Regions from separate parts of the Homo sapiens genome. Here region 1 is linked to region 2. The links are contacts of gene promoters, found by promoter capture Hi-C in human tissues and cell types (Jung and others, 2019). All regions are on one chromosome and are shown on one strand. The core of a region is centred on a gene start or on the middle of the fragment in contact, and the rest is flanking DNA. Distances in the headings are between cores, read along the strand shown.

Evidence for each region. The method cuts DNA at HindIII sites, captures the fragments that hold promoters and counts their contacts. A contact is called where the count stands out against the background at its distance.
Region 1: a fragment that was not itself captured here is called in contact with the fragment with the promoter of CASQ2 in region 2 in 1 of the 25 tissues and cell types used here (mesenchymal stem cells).

The regions. Positions count from the first base shown.
Region 1 is chr1:115,728,141-115,732,996 of GRCh38, reverse strand. It overlaps CASQ2 (calsequestrin 2), which reads left to right. Exons shown (of 11, transcript NM_001232.4): 5 at 23-96. Among named protein-coding and RNA genes, the nearest start is that of CASQ2, 38 kb to the left of the region's middle. The HindIII fragment of the contact is 3,849 bases long and covers 1-3,174 here.
Region 2 is chr1:115,767,154-115,772,125 of GRCh38, reverse strand. It overlaps CASQ2 (calsequestrin 2), which reads left to right and starts at 3,412. Exons shown (of 11, transcript NM_001232.4): 1 at 3,412-3,818. The coding sequence starts at 3,585. RefSeq lists an enhancer at 100-359. The HindIII fragment of the contact is 10,019 bases long and covers 1-4,972 here.

The sequences.
Region 1 (4,856 bases), core at 1-2,500, 37 kb after region 2:
TCATCTTTATTTTTCCCCTTAGACTACAAGGCTTTTGAAGAAGCAGCTGAACACTTCCAGCCTTACATCAAATTCTTTGCCACCTTTGACAAAGGGGTAAGTACCTATGAAACCCCAATTTGAACAGTTTTGTAGGCATGAAGAATTAAAGTTTGAACTCTCACCACTCTTTCTTTTCTTTTAGCAACATTAACCATCCTCCCTTGCCTCTTTCTCTAGAAGGGTTAAGAATTATATCACTAAATCACTATTGGATTTAAGATGAGTACAAAGATGACTAAGTCAGAGGATGTAAGGATATTTATGAAAACATCCAAGGAAAAGTGATGACCCACCATTATCTTCTTATACACTGAGATGGGAAACGTGTGGGCCCAGAGTGTGCCAGCCCACTGAGCCACTGCTTCCTTTTTCCTTAGGGGGTATCCTCTCCCTTCCTGGGGTTGCATACTTCCCCTTCTACTGCGTCAGGATGGGAAGTAGAATGGGAACTCCTCTGTGATTAGTTCAAGCAAGTGTTCTGCGAAAAACAAGAGGAAGTCAGTGAGCTGAAGCAGGGAAGGGACGTGGTGGGATGAGATTGCATTCAGTTCATGTATATGATGAACCACTTCTGTAGACATGGCCCAGTCTTCAAGCCTATGATCCAGAAGAGTGCTCTATAATCCAAGTAACATAATCTAAACTTGAAGAATGTTTATCCTAATTAGTTGTATTACAGTTGGGAGGGATCTTGAGCAAGAATAATCAAAAAAGCTATCATGTATTAAGTGTCTATTATGGGCCAGGTGCTGTGGCTCACACCTGTAATCCCAACACTTTGGGAGGCTGACGGGGGTGGATTGCATGAGCCTTGGAGTTGGAGACCAGCCTGGGCAACATGGTGAGACCCCATCTCTACAAAAAATACAAAAATTAGCTGGGTGTGGTGGCACACACTTGTAGTCCGAACTACTTGGGAGGCTTGAGGTGGGAGGATCACTTGAGCCCAGGAGGTTGAAGCTGCAGTGAGCTGTGATCATACCATTGTACTCCAACCTGGGCAATGGAGTGAGATCCTCTCTCAAAAAATAAAAATATAAAAAATAATAAATTCAAAAAAATTTTTATGTGCCAGAGTCTGTGCTAAGAAGTCTCTTTGTGCCAGAGTGTGTGCTAAGAAGTTAACATGGATTTTCTCACTTCATCCTTTCAACACTCCCATAAGGGAGGAATTAGTATCCTCATTCTACAGAGGATGAAACTGAGGTGCTGAAAGATTAAGTGATTTTTTCATGATCATGTAGTTACTGAATTGAGAAGCTTGCTATAATCTCAGACCAGCCTGACTTCAAAGTCAATGCTCTGTCCTACTTTACTCCAGAGAAAGAAGCAATATATGCAAACTGCCTAGCTGGTTTTTGGCACACAGGAAGCATTCAGTAATAGTTAGCCAGCTATGAGCACCATTGTTCATAAGAAAGCAATCATCTAGGCCCAGGAAGTGGGAGGATTGGATAGGATATTAGTAGAGAAAGGGAGGAACAGAGAAGCCGAAACTGAATCCATTACTGACATATGGTTCTGATGGACCATTTGGTTCTAATGGACTAGGTGTGGCTAAAGAGGCTCCTGGGTAAGAATCCAGCTGAAAGGAATAGAGAGGCAGGCCAATTAATTTGTCCAGCAACAAAGCCTTAGTTTTTAGAGGGGTGGTTCAACGTTGAGCTCAGGGTAGTATTTGTTTGTAGAAGTGCCTCCTAGTGCAACTGTATAGCTTCATGCCTGTGGTCCATGAAAAAGGTGAGGTCAGGCTATGATTAAAAATTCAGAGAGATGCTTTATTCAAATTCTGTAGGACACTGAGTCATAAGTGCCAGTGTTCATGTAGCCTTGTTGGATTTCAGAATATTTAAAGAGACAAAGGTACACAGAGGGGAGAGCACTGAGAGGACTCTGATGCCATTTGGTGCTTAAGAACTTGCATCCATCAGTTGGGGTGGAGGGGGTGTCCAAGGGGAGATGGTGGAGTCCAGAAGGCATGACTGCACCTGGTAGAGCCTCAGTGGTTTCCAGCAGGGAGTGCTAGGACAGAAGAGGAGAAAAGTAATAAATGTGAAGTGGCTGAAAGGACCTGTTTGTACAACACATCCTAGGGAATCTCAGAGGGACCTGGAGGTGCTTTGTTGAGGTCTGAAACCAGGAGAGGCAAGGGACAAGAAAGCACTAATGCGGTCACAAAAATGCAAAAAACAACTGGCACTAGTAAAAGTGGATATAACAAGAAGATCTGGCCATTGATGAGATGATGAGAGAAGGCCTCAAAATAACTTAAGATAGCAAGTCTTGGCGTTAAGACAGCAAAAATTATGAAGCTACTGAAAACATTAGGAAATCCAGGAAGAAGAATCTATTGAGGAACAAGAGATGGGGTTATGAGTTCTATTTTCTAAAAGTTGGGGAAACATTCAACTGGAAATGTCCTTAATTAATTAATTAATTAATTCAGTCATTCACTCAACAAGTATTTATTGAGTGCCCTTTATGTGCCAGGCACTCTTCTTAGTGCCAGGGACACAACATTGAGCAAAGCAGATTCCTGCCCTTTAGAATTTAAAGTTTATTGTGGGAAAGAGAAGATGGAAAGACAGAAAGTTCAAAAGTAAACAAACCAATAAATACATCATATGAGTTGCAAGACTGTAAAGAGGGTGAGATGTCATGGCTGCTGATGTAAATTTGTCAGTCAGTAGTTCCCAACCACTATCCATATTAGTATCCTCCAACAAGCTTTTAAAACCATTGGTCTCTGGGCCCCAGCCCTGGAAATTTTAATTTTTTAGGGTTGTGGCAGTGTCTGGGAATCTGCATTTTCAAAAGCCACCCAAGGAATTTTAAAGGGTGTGGAGGTTTAGGACCAGTACTGATCTATTAATACTAATCCTAAATCAAGCCACACGAAGGCCCAACCTCTCTGAAGAAGCAGTTAGAACAAGAAAGTGTCAGAGGGCCAAGGATGGTTCCACTCTGCTGCACCTCACAGCCTGAAAAATATCAGTTCTTAAAATCCCATGTCCCCGCCCACTGACCTGTTCCTCTCTCTGTCTGAGTGAACAATGAGACGAAAAATCACTTTCTTTTTTAAATCACACTGGAGCCAAAGGGTGCTGTGACTAAACAAAGTTAGTGGAGAAGATAGATGTTGGGAAGACCTAAATTTAGTAATGGCAAAAACCATTACTTTTGGCAAAAACTGCGATTACTTTTGCACCAACCTAATACTTGAGTTGGTTTCATTGGCAACAACTAAAATGACTTGCTAACTGGAGGAAAAATGATTTGTATCAAAATTCATATACATGCACATGTCAGAAAATTGGCATTGTACTTTGTAGTTTTCTTATCTTTGTTGAAATCTATTCCAACTAGTTAACAGATAAAAGCATGAAAGAATTCATTTTTATGGACCCATTTGGTTCTTAATAATATAATTCATTCTTATATAATGCTAATACCCATGAACCAGATCTCCTCCTGGAATAATGCCTTGGGTTCAGTAGGCCCCACTAAATACTTACTGAATAAATGAATGAATAAAAGCTTCAACCAATCAAATCCCTTCAGTCCTTACCATCCAAGATAGGAATAATAAGAATGAAAGAGGGGGTCGGGCGCAGTGGCTCACGCCTGTAATCCCAGCACTTTGGGAGGCCGAGGGGGGAGGTGGATCACCTGAGGTCAGTAGTTCAAGACCAGCCTGGCCAACATGGCGAAACCCCATCTCTACTAAAAATACAAAAATTAGCTGGGTGTGGTGGCCTGTGCCCATAATCCCAGCTACTCGGGAGGCTGAGGCAGGAGAATCGCTCGAACCTGGGAAGCGGAGATTGCAGTGAGCCGAGACTGTGCCATTGAACCCCAGCCTGGGCAACAAGAGCAAAACTCTGTCTCACCAAAAAAAAAAAAAAAAAAAAAAAAAAAAGAATGAAAGAGAGGGATTCTCTGAGATACAAGATGAGAGCACTCCATGATGGTGGTAGGTAGACAGTGAAGAGATCCCTGGGAAATTTTTACTTAGCATTTCCAAGACTTAAATTAAGGACACGACAATCCAATTTTTACATTCTTAGACAGCACTGTGGACCCAGACATTGGCATTCAGAGACGAGACTATCACCACCACCAGGCGGGTTTGACTTCTGGCTCTGCTCCCTCCAGATATATGATCCTGACAAATTTCTTACCCAAATTGTGCCTCAGGTTCATCATTTGTAAAATAACTATGATAATCATTCTTACCACATACAATCAAAGTGAGAATTAAACAAAGAATCAACCTAAAACACCTGGCAGCAGTGCCTGGCACGTGATAAGCACTCCATATGTTTGTTATTATTACTGTTTTCATTCTGATCACTTCTCCTTTCATGGAAACAGTCTTCTGGTTCCTAGAATACATAGTAAGTGAACTCAGAAAACCAGAATTCAATGTCATTTTCTTGCCCACTCTGGCTCCCTGCCTCATCACCTCATCATCTACATCACCCCCCTACCCCTGAGAAGAGGGAAAAACAGTTAGAAAAAACTCCACATCTCCCTCTCTTAAAATTAACCTGACAATAAAATCTCCCTTGACTGACTATAGCTGTCAACATGGCCTGTTTTCTTGATCTCTGAGTAGGATGCTGGAATTTCTCTCCCTTAAGTACTATATGAAATGCCTTTCAGAATATAGTGACCTGGAATTCATAGCAATTGATGACAAAAACCATATGGATATCAATGTTTCCTCAGAATGGATCTCCTTGTGTAAGAGCTTATGCAATACCCAGCTCCTCCCCTTCCCCAGTTAGTTGCAGCCGCCCTGGGTCACGGCA
Region 2 (4,972 bases), core at 2,163-4,662:
TTCTACCAGGCCAATAGGCTGTGCTTCCTTCCAGGAACGGGAGCAAAGAAATAGGCCATTTTCTGTTTTGTCCACTGGGTGGAGTATTTTAGCCAAAGAAGGGTCCTTTGGCAGCAGTGACATTGTAGGCGATCTTTGCCTTGGAGAAGAGGCAAGCTTGGACTCGTCCGGAGTCACGCCCATCAAAACCCTCCTCCGCAGCTAACACTCATCAGACTTCATCACACTGTGTGTTGGGCTGAGGCCTATCCTGGTAAAAGAAAATCTTATAACAGATTTTAACATCTTAGAGCCAGAAAGGGGGCCTTAGGAGCTTGGTGACTCTAACCCTCTTTCACAAATTGGAAGTGCTAGGGCCCGAGCCTCAGGGCTCCTGACCTAATCACACAGGCAGGCGGAACGCAGGTCTCCTGCCTTTCTGGGGGCGGTTCTTTCTCTGAGGCACCTCAGAGGCGCCCAAATGGAGACCTGCAGACCTTCGAAGGGAGGCGTGAGCACATACGTTTCTCTTTGTAGATAAAATGGTCTGAGAGAAAAATCATTCTGCCACCTGTCAAGAATAAACAAAGTAAATGAGCTAGGTTAGATTAAGGGACTGTAGTTGGCGGCCACTCACAGTGAAGGACTGGAAATGGTTAGCAAAACAAGGGGCCTACGGCATATATTGTGACAACAATAAACATTTATTTGTATTGATTTGTGTGTTTTGTTCTACCCCTTCTTGTTTAAAAACAAAACAAAAAGTACCTACTAATGGCACATAAAAATGCACACATTTCAGCACAACCACATAAACTAGAAGTACATGACACATTGGCTTGGGGCGCAGCTAAAGCTGGAACAAAACAGCTGATTTGCAGGATGTAAGGTTGACTCAGAAATGTGTGAAGCATTCTTTGTTTAAAAAATAAATGAATTGGCTGGACCTGGTGGCTCACACCTGTAATCCTAGCACTTTGGGAGGCTAAGGCAGGCGGATCACCCGAGATTGGGAGTTCAAGACCAGCCTGACCAACATGGAGAAACCTCGTATCTAATAAAAATACAAAATTAGCCAGGCGTGATGGCACGTGCCTGTAATCCCAGCTACTCGGGAGGCTGAGGCAGAAGAATGGCTTGAACCTGGGAGGCGGAGATTGTGGTGAGCCGAGATCGCGCCATTGCACTCCAGCCTGGGCGACAAGAGCGAAACTCCATCTCAAAAAAAAAAAAAAAAAAAAAAAATTAAAGTTGGTGAGCAATAAGACAGAGGAAAAACAAAAATAGGAAAATGAAAGGCAGACAGAAAATAAGCCTGGTACGTTAAATGTAAACTATGAAAACCTACCTTTTGCTGAGAGTGGGGCATGAATGTAGACCTCATATCTACCATGGATGCTTGGGGGAAACCTGATCACCACAGCATATGTCAGTGGCTGCATGTCCTCAGGGCTGGGCTGCCTGGCCCAAATCGAGTCCATGATCTAGGGGCAGGAACTTTCCACAGCTCGGGCTTTTTGTAGTAAACCAGAGTTGAAGGCTAAACTAAAGTTTAAAAAATTATTTCTTTTCCCTTATAGTTTTGTCAATTATAAGTCAGAAGGAAATTAAAAGACTCTGACTTTAAATAGCTTCCAATTTTTCAGTAACAGTTAAAAAAAACCTACTTACATATTAAGAAAAGTGGAGCAAATTCTAAATAAAGGTAACCCAGTGAGATCGAGACAACTGGGAACAGTCTGGGGAGGCTGACCTCAAAAAGACAAGACACACATTGTTTCACTCGGAAATCTTTTTCCCCTTAAATTTCCTAAAGAAAGCAGAGATCTTGCATGCTTGCCACTGACTTGGAAAGCTAAGTGCACCTTAGAATGGATATTCTTGGCTCCATCTTTTGAAAACTTAGAGACTACACCATTAGAAAGAACGGAATACCGTCAAGGGTTTTAGTGATGGGTTCTTCAAGGCCCCAACTTTCTGCACATGAGAGTGTAGCATCAAGACAACCCCTTATCAGCCTGACTCTCAGTGTAAGGCCGTCTGACTGCAGGGGAGCCTTGCTTTACTCAGAGAGGCCACGGATCTTCTCTTTGCCTTCTAGCCCCTGCAGAAGCTGTGCATGACAGAGTACTCTGTCTTTCCAAAGCTGATTTATAACTGAAGGAGAACAAAAACTTGGTCAGAATCATGAATGCCCTAGATGCCTTTGAAGAGTGGAGAGACATGACTGGACTAGGGTTGGACTGGAAGAGATGGTCAAGAAGGTACTTAAGAAAAGGGGTGTCTGCAAGGGAATCACCCAGAGTCAGAGGCAAAACAGCCAGGAGCAGCAGCTTTGAGGCAGGGTTGGATTCTTGCTCCGGCAGTTAGAAATGCTGCAAACTCAGACAAGTTGCTGTTAGCTCAGCGGTAGGATGAGCCCTGATCCCTTTTGCCCCAATTGCCTACTGGATTCAAGGAGAAAATGGACAAGAAAGGGTTCACAAACCATTCATATTAGAAACAGACAAATATCCATTATATAACCAATGTTCCACCAGCTCCAATGAGAAGTAAGTATAATAGCTACTATTTTTGAGCACCTATTTTGTGCCATGCTTTTTCATCTATGTGTTTGAAACTTTATGGTTATTATCAGCCCCACTTTACATAGAGGGGAACTGAGAATCAGAGAGGGCAAGTGACCCTCCAAAGTTCATTAGCTGTTAAAAGGCAGAGTAGGGATTTGAACTGTGAACCTTGTTTCATTTTAGTTTAATGAGGACAGGTTCTTCTGGTGTCAGCTGGGTTCAGCAGGGTGTCCCTGCACCCCTCGCCCAGTGGCTGGCAGAGGATTTTTAAGAAGAGAGGAGGGAAGGCAGAAAAAGACAGGAGTAGAACATGAAGAAGTCTACCTCGGGGCTCCATTTTGTTCCATGTTGCAGTGAGGAACAGAGGATGAACAACCACCGTGAGGGGACAGGCTGAGTTACCACCCTGGGGTGATTTAACAATTCAGTAATGTATGAGTGTCATTCCGTATGTTTGAACTCTCCATTTGCTTATTGGCACCATAGTCCCTTATCTCTCTCCCTCTCGAGTTTCTTTCTCTTCTTTGACCTTTCTAGCCTCCTTATTTCATGCGTGTACATTCTTGTCTTTTTCCTTCTGCCTCTTCCCTCTTCACCAGTCGGACAGACTGTATCAGCGAATCCCTCTACAGTGTCGTATCTAACTTTTTTATTCATTGCATGATTTATTTTTAGCCTGAAACAACTGCATCCTAAAAATGGAGTTCCTAATGAGACAGAGGCTGAGCAGAGCTATGTAAGGTATCTGGGGCTTGGCCTCCCAGCCTCCCTAGCTTGGCTGTTTTTCTACTCTCATGCGTGCGTGCGTGCGTGCGTGTGTGTGTGTGTGTGCCTCTGCTCTTTGTCCTGAGCCCACGATTCCAGAGCTGGCTGGACCCAAGGAGGTGAAGAGTCACTTTTCAGCCCCAGGAAGGGCAAAGAAGAGAGAAAATCAGCCTGTCTGCTCTCTCCTTGGCTCAACAAGGCCTCTAACAGTCTTCTGTCCTCTATTCTGCACACAGCATATTTGGGAACGAGAAACAAAAGTTTTCCCAAATGAAGAGAACTCACTTGTTTATTGTGGGGATTTATTTTCTGTCCTCTTGCAGGGCAGAAGAGGGGCTTAATTTCCCCACATATGATGGGAAGGACCGAGTGGTAAGTCTTTCCGAGAAGAACTTCAAGCAGGTTTTAAAGAAATATGACTTGCTTTGCCTCTACTACCATGAGCCGGTGTCTTCAGATAAGGTCACGCAAAAACAGTTCCAACTGAAAGAAATCGTGCTTGAGGTAAGTAACCAAAGGGCATGCTGTCTGCGCTGCCTCAGTGAGGTGCCGAGGGAATGCCTTTGGCCAGGGGTTGGGATATGGGAACGAGGATGCAGAGAATATATACTGAACTCTGCTTTATTTTGGCCTCACGTGAATCAGATGCCCTTGTCACACAGCTGGGATGTGTGAACAATGAGGGGTGGGTCCTAACTCTTCAAATGAAGAGGACCAAACGTGCTACACTACGATGGGTCTGATGTAAAGTCTTTATGGCCCCCTTGACTTTTCAAGGGCCCTTGTCCCAGCCATTGTTTCCCAGATAGAATGTAGAAACTATTGTTAAAACTGTTGGCTGAAATGAAATCCAGGGACTACTTGTGGATTTCATTCAGTGTGCCCACTTTGCTCCCTCAAATCTCCCCATGATCCTGGAGAGACCAGAGTTACTTGACCTTGCGTCTCTCTGGGGGTCAGACGGAGAATATCACTAAATGACTTTCCTCTCTCTTGTTTTGCGTCAGTCAGCATTACAGAATGTAGTTGTGTGCAGATCTTCTGAGCAGCATATTCATTTATGTGATTTTTTTTCTCAGAAAGTTCTTGGTGTGACTTTAGGGCAGAGCTGAAGTCAGTTCTTATTTTATCCGCATTACATGGCCTGCCTGTTTGTAACCTGGCACTGGGGCCCATTTTCTAATCCTTTGCGAGTGCCCCAGAAACTATTCCTGCAGCTCCTCCTGGACAGCTTAAGATGGCTTACACTTTAAGAGGGCCTGAGGGTGCCAAGAATGCTAGTGGGCACCAAGATGCCTCATCAGTCTCCACGCCTAGCCCAGGCGCAAACCTGTGAAAGGGATATTTGAGAATTACAGTTTATTAACCAGCACAATCAGAGAACTCAGGTTGATGAAATAGTTTAATAGGATTATCATATAAAACCCATGTGGATTTGAATTTTTTCAAATTGAAAAATTGACTGTAATAAAATCCAGCAAAACTATCCCAAATACATCAAAAGTATATCTCCAACCTTGGGTGCTGAATGTGGAATTTCAGTTCTCTCTGTGGGTTGCAAGAAAAGAGAAAGCAGGGATAGTTATTAAGACTTTATTTTATAGAAATGAGCAAATCACAGGCTGGAAAAGAACGAGACATAGAACTTAGCTGCTGCT